Regions from separate parts of the Homo sapiens genome. Here region 2 is linked to region 1. The links are contacts of gene promoters, found by promoter capture Hi-C in blood cells and fetal thymus (Javierre and others, 2016). All regions are on one chromosome and are shown on one strand. Each heading gives the region's core, a stretch centred on a gene start or on the middle of the fragment in contact. The rest is flanking DNA. Distances are from core to core; before and after follow the strand shown.

The links. The method cuts DNA at HindIII sites, captures the fragments that hold promoters and counts their contacts. A CHiCAGO score of 5 or more calls a contact.
Region 2: a fragment that was not itself captured here is called in contact with the fragment with the promoter of KHDRBS3 in region 1 in 1 of 17 cell types (monocytes); the score reaches 6.0 in monocytes.

The regions. Positions count from the first base shown.
Region 1 is chr8:135,456,051-135,458,750 of GRCh38, reverse strand. KHDRBS3 (KH RNA binding domain containing, signal transduction associated 3) reads right to left here and starts at 1,295. Exons shown (of 9, transcript NM_006558.3): 1 at 797-1,295. The coding sequence starts at 884. LOC101927872 (a long non-coding RNA gene) reads left to right here and starts at 776. Exons shown (of 4, transcript XR_002956731.2): 1 at 776-869. RefSeq lists a silencer at 1,124-1,423. The HindIII fragment of the contact is 3,136 bases long and covers 1-1,758 here.
Region 2 is chr8:134,722,933-134,725,632 of GRCh38, reverse strand. LOC124902072 (a long non-coding RNA gene) reads right to left here. Exons shown (of 2, transcript XR_007061187.1): 2 at 1,723-2,181. It also overlaps a transcript of ZFAT not described here. Among named protein-coding and RNA genes, the nearest start is that of ZFAT, 11 kb to the right of the region's middle. The HindIII fragment of the contact is 7,755 bases long and covers 1-2,700 here.

The DNA.
Region 1 (2,700 bases), core at 46-2,545:
GGACTCCCTTCACCACTATTCCGAACCTCAAGCCAGCCACCAATGAGGGTCACCCAACCCAACGCCCTCCGGAACGGTGCTCTTTTGCCGGCCTCTTCTCCCCTACTGACTTCTCCAAGGGCCAGCCTGCAAGGCTTGGCATGGGCTGCCCATCCCCTGGGAGGGCTGACTGCCCCGCCAGGGCTGTTGGAGCCTGGACACAGGAGAGACAAAGGGCTGGGAGGGGGAACTGGGCTCCTCCCCTGGGACCACGGAGCTCCTCTCCTCTCAGGTGCTGGGGTCTGACCCCAACCCTCTTCCAAGGTCCCCAAACTTCGCTAACAATGCAAGCACCTGTTCCCTTCACCTCTTCTGCATTTGAGTCCCTCAAGTCCTTCCATTTTCCTCCAGCTTTTTCTCCAGTACCTTAGACAAACCAAACGCCCTACTTCCCCGAGTCCAACACGCTCCCCTTCCATGACATAATTCAACCTCGTTCCCAACGAAGCCCCCAGATGGTCGCTGTCCCCCACCCAGAAGTTTCCCCTGGGTGTGCCCGAGTCCCCAAAGATTTCCTTCAAGTCTCACCCATGCGCCCCAGCCTTCTCCTTCCAAGTCCCCAAAATTCACATCAGGGTCTTCCCCTAGGTGTCCCACAGCCTCCCAGGTCCCCGTGCAAACGACCCCGGGGGCCACCCGGGCCTCCGTCTCCGCCGCGTCCGCTGACAGCAGAGGGCACGGAGGGGCCCCCTGGGCCCCCGCGTTTCCACCCGGCCCCCAACCGCCGCCGGCCGGCAGTTAACGGCCGGCGCCTCACCTTGGTTCACCAGGCGCAGGGCGTGCGTGAAGGAGGGGTCCAGGGAGTCCTTCTCCGCCATCAGCTCGGGCAGGTACTTCTCCTCCATGCTCGCCGGCCGCCGGGCCCGGGATGTGGACTCCAGGCGCACGGGGGGCGGCGCCCGGCAACCCCCGACCCCGCCCGCGCCCCCAGCGGCGGGGACCCGGGGGCCAGACGCGGCAGCAGCGGCCAAGCCGGGCGGTCGGCCGGAAGGCGGCGGCGGCGGCACGGGGGCGGGAACCGACCGCTCAGCCCCGATCCCCGGTGGCCGCCGAGTACCCAGCGCCGGCGGCCCCCGCGCTCCGGGCGCGGGCCGAGGAGGAGCGGGCGCGGGCGGCGCGGTTAGGCGGGCCCTCGGGCCGAGCGGGCTGCGGCGCCCCTGAGGCAGTCCACGGCGATCCCCGCCAGTCCCGCCAGCACCTGCCAGCACCCGAGCCACAGCTGCGACCTGCACGCCGCGCGCCGCCCCGCGCACTCTGAGCCACCGCGCCGAGCGCCCAGCGCCTGCCGCCGGCCCCGCCCCGCCCGGCTCCGCCCCGCCCCGCCCCGCGCCCGCCGCCCCGCCCTGCCGCGCCGCGCCTGCGCACTGGCGCCCACCGCCCCGCCGCCCGCCGCCTCCTGGGGCCGCTCTCCACTGCGAGTCCGCCGGGACTAACCGGGCGTTTGCGAGAGGGGGTGCGTCCAAGGGCCCCTCCCGCGTGTCCGGCGCCCACCTTTGGCCCTGAGGGCCGAGTGGGGAGCCCCACGACGCTATTACAGCCTTTCAGATGCACGGACTGGGAAACTGGGGCTCAGAGAAGTCAAGTGGCTCGCCCAAGGTCACCCAGCGAGTGATCCTGGGAAGAGGGGACAAGGGCCGAGCTGGAGCTGGGAAGGGCGCCCCAGTTCGCCCCAGTCGCGCTCTGAGGAATAGCAGCGGGACCGCCCTGCTCTCTAAAGCTTCCTGGACTTCTCTAAGTTATGTCGCGTTGCTGTCCCCTCGTACTTATAAGAGAGTAAGGCAGGGGCGCCGTCCTTTCTCCGCGCCTGAGCTCAGAGCGCCAACCTCCTGAGATCCGCCAGCTCAGAGGTCGGTTACATAAAAGCGCGTGCCCTTCTGGGCGTCTTTGTCATCCCGACTTGCTCCTGGGTTGTCATTCTCTTAGGTCATAAACCGGCTGTGCCTGGACACAGCTGAGTGAGCCGCGTCTGAGCTCATCCGCTCCTGGGGAGAGGCCCTGGGACGCCCCGCCTGTCGGTGGCAATGCTCTCTGTCCCCTTCCGCCCACCCCCAACCCCCAGCAAATGCTCTCCAAGGCCATTTCAGATTTCCCGAGGCATGTGGAATAAACGTCCCCCAGGAAGGCGAAGGACTCCAGTCCTTGCCCTGCCATTTTTCCTGCCTTCAAACAGCCAGCTCAAGTCCCGGCCTCAATGTCACCTTCCCTGGACAGCCTCTCAGGACCTCCCTGGCAAAGCAAGTCACAAGTCCCTTCTCTGTGTCCCCCCAGCTTGGTCAGAGGTCATTCACAGACAGCTGTAATTCTGTTTTCAGTAGACCATGAGCATCAGGGACAGAGTTTGAGTTTTGTTTTTGAGGGGGAAGGTCACCAGTGTGTAGTACAGGGGGCAGGGATGGAGGGTACTGGAAATGTCTCTTGGAGGAATAAGTCAGTGGCATACCACTCTCAGCCAATAGCCTGAGGACAATCGCCACAGTCCCCCAGGCAGCCCCCCCGCACTCCCAATGCAAATGGAGGCAGCTTTACAAACCCGAGGGGAGTGGGAGGTGGTAGAAATCTTGGAAGCTCTAAGTCCCAGACCCGAGTACTCAACTGCCCTCACTCTCAAGGCTCCACTCCTCCCCCGGCTAAGGTGTCATTTCAGAGTCCCCAGTAAGAGTC
Region 2 (2,700 bases), core at 88-2,587, 730 kb after region 1:
GCCAGTGTTGAGGGTGGGACCTGATGGGAGGTGATTAGATCGTGGCGGTGGATCCTTTGTGAATGGTTTGGCACCATACCTTTGCTGCTGTTCTTGTGATAGAGTTCTCATGAGATCTGGCTGTAGAAAAGCGTGTAGCACCTCTCCCCGTCCCTCTCTTGCTCCTACGCTGGCCATGTAATATGTGCCCATTCCCCCTTCATCTCCTGCCATGATTGTAAGTTTCCTGAGGCTTCCCCAGAAGCTGAGCAGATGCCAGTGCTATGCTTCCTGAACAGCCTGTGGAACCATGAGCCAATTCATCCTCTTTATAAATGGCCGAGTCTCAGATATTTCTTGAAAGCCGTCTGAGATCAGACTAATACACCACTCTTTGCCAGGCGCTTGAACTTGTGCCCTGAGGCAGCTTACAGTTCTGAGGGAGAAAGTAGTTAAACGAGCCATAACGATATGTGGGATGGGGCGGTACAGTGTGCCCAGGAAACGGGCAGGAAGGATGGTAGCCTTAATCTGCAGGGTTGGGGAAGCCTTCTCTGTGGAGGTTACCTCCAGCCCAGAGAGCTGGAGGGAGATCTGCAAAGAGGAGCAGGGGTAGGAGCAGATGGGGGGCTGTTTTCTCAAGCAAGGCCCCAGGGAGGGGCTTTAAAGAACCTGCAGAGGTGCAACTGCAACTGAGCTTGCGGTGGAGAGCACAGGTGGAGAGGTGAGCTTGGTTGCCAAGGACTTCCATGGGTGAGAACTGCTTGGACTTCAGTTCGCAAAGGGAGAAGCGCTTTAACTGGGGAGTGTGGGGTGAATTCCCCCACAGCCCATGGTAATCTTGACTCTGTAAGGGGAAGGGAGGCGAGTTTCTCCCCCTTGCTATAGACAGCTCCCCTTTGAGAGCTTCTAGCCTGCACTGTGTAACTTGACTGGCAGGTAACGTAACTGATAGAATGATACCCAGGGCAGGCTAAAGAGGTTCTGGGACTTTAAGTGACGAAACCAGGAAAGGCCCAGACCACCCGAGACCAGTTGGCCACCTACCAGCAGGGCTGCTGTTCAACCCATATACATGAGTTATGGCCATGGTGGTTATTATACTAACGAAATCTTTCCCTATTTAGTGATTTAGTAAATAGCACCTCTTTAAGCCCTGGCCCTGTGTCCCCATACTCTTGGCAGTATAGCCCACTGGCCCCAAACTCCTAGGACCTTCTTTCTCAGCTTCTAAAATTAAAGGAGTAACCCCTGGCACATCAGGGGCATGCGTTCTTTCTGATTAGCCAGTGTCCATGCTGTATCTATTGACAAATGTCACCCTGGGTCACCTGTGTTCCATTGTCCTTCCTTCTGCTATGCCTTGACTGGGCTTGGAGCTCACTGCATCTCCCTGCCTCTCAAGATGCCTACCCAATAATTTACAGGGCAGCTGCCATCACCCTCCAAGATGGTGACCAATGCACAGTCCCAAAGTTTCTTTACATGTCCACCCTCTGGAGTTCCTATGCAGATGGCACCTGAGCCTGCTTATAGAAACTGGCATAAGATTCTGCATCAAGAGATGCCCACCAAATGCCACCCCTGACTCCTAAGAATGGAAGTGAATCAAGTCTAGCTCTAAAGTGTAAAAGCAGCTGCGTAGGTTTTTGTCCACGTAGATAGCTTGAGGCAGCATAATGAAAGAAACTAATCCATCACCTCTTTTATGTGAGACATTGTTTTTAAACAATAGGCAATATATGAGATTTCCATGGACACTTTATTTTCAGGGTTATCAGTTTTCTCTCAGCTGTTACAGCAGCATTTCTCTCTGAGCCAGTTACTGCGGGAACTTCATAAATGTGCTTCTGAAGAAGGGTTCTGCTTGTCCACCCTGTTACAGGTTGAAATGTGTGTTCGTCAAGTTGTTCCTCATGCAGGAGGTTAGGGAGGTGACTGATCCCAGAGGCTCAGCCCCCCATGGTCCCAGTACAGTGAAGGGGTCCTCAAGGGGTGTCTTCAGGTTGGCTTCAGACAAGGGGAGACTCTGGCAGGAAACCAGGAGGGCAGGAGCGGAGTACGGTCTGGGCATTTATTCCTCAGTCTCCTTCTCTAAGTCGCAGAGTATTGGTGGTCCGTCTTGCTGAAGGTGGACTCCTCTGCACAGGCCCTGTCCTGGCCCTGGGTTCCAGCGGGCACTCCCTCCGCATGCCTGCAGGCCTGGGGTGAGGCGAGGTTGCAGAAGGGCTGCATCATTCCTCTCTGACCTCCCAAAACCCTGCCCACACCTTTGTAAAGAGCCCCTTCATTAAATGCTCCTCCAATTGCCCAGCTTGAGGATGCCCTCTGCCTCCCGCTGGAGGCCTGGCTGCCAAGGAGCTGAGGTGGAGCGATGTGATAAGAGGGAGGTCCCAGGCGATCCTGGGGGATGGGGATGCTGACAGTGCTGCCTGCAGTCAGGCAGCTCACAGGAATCCCTGTTACTCCAGGGATTGGAGCAGTGTTCACGTCTGTTTCTCAAGGCCTGTGTACTATTTTTCTGTGACTGCTGTAACGAATACCACAGACTGGGTGGCTTAAGCAACAGGAATTTATGTCCTCACCATTCTGGTGGCTAGAAGTCCAAGATCAAGGTGTCAGCAGGGTTGGGTTCATTCTGAGGCCTCTCTTGTAGAAGGTGGCTCGTAGATGGCCACCTTTTCTCTGTGTCTTCTGTGTGTCTCTGTCCTAATTTCCACT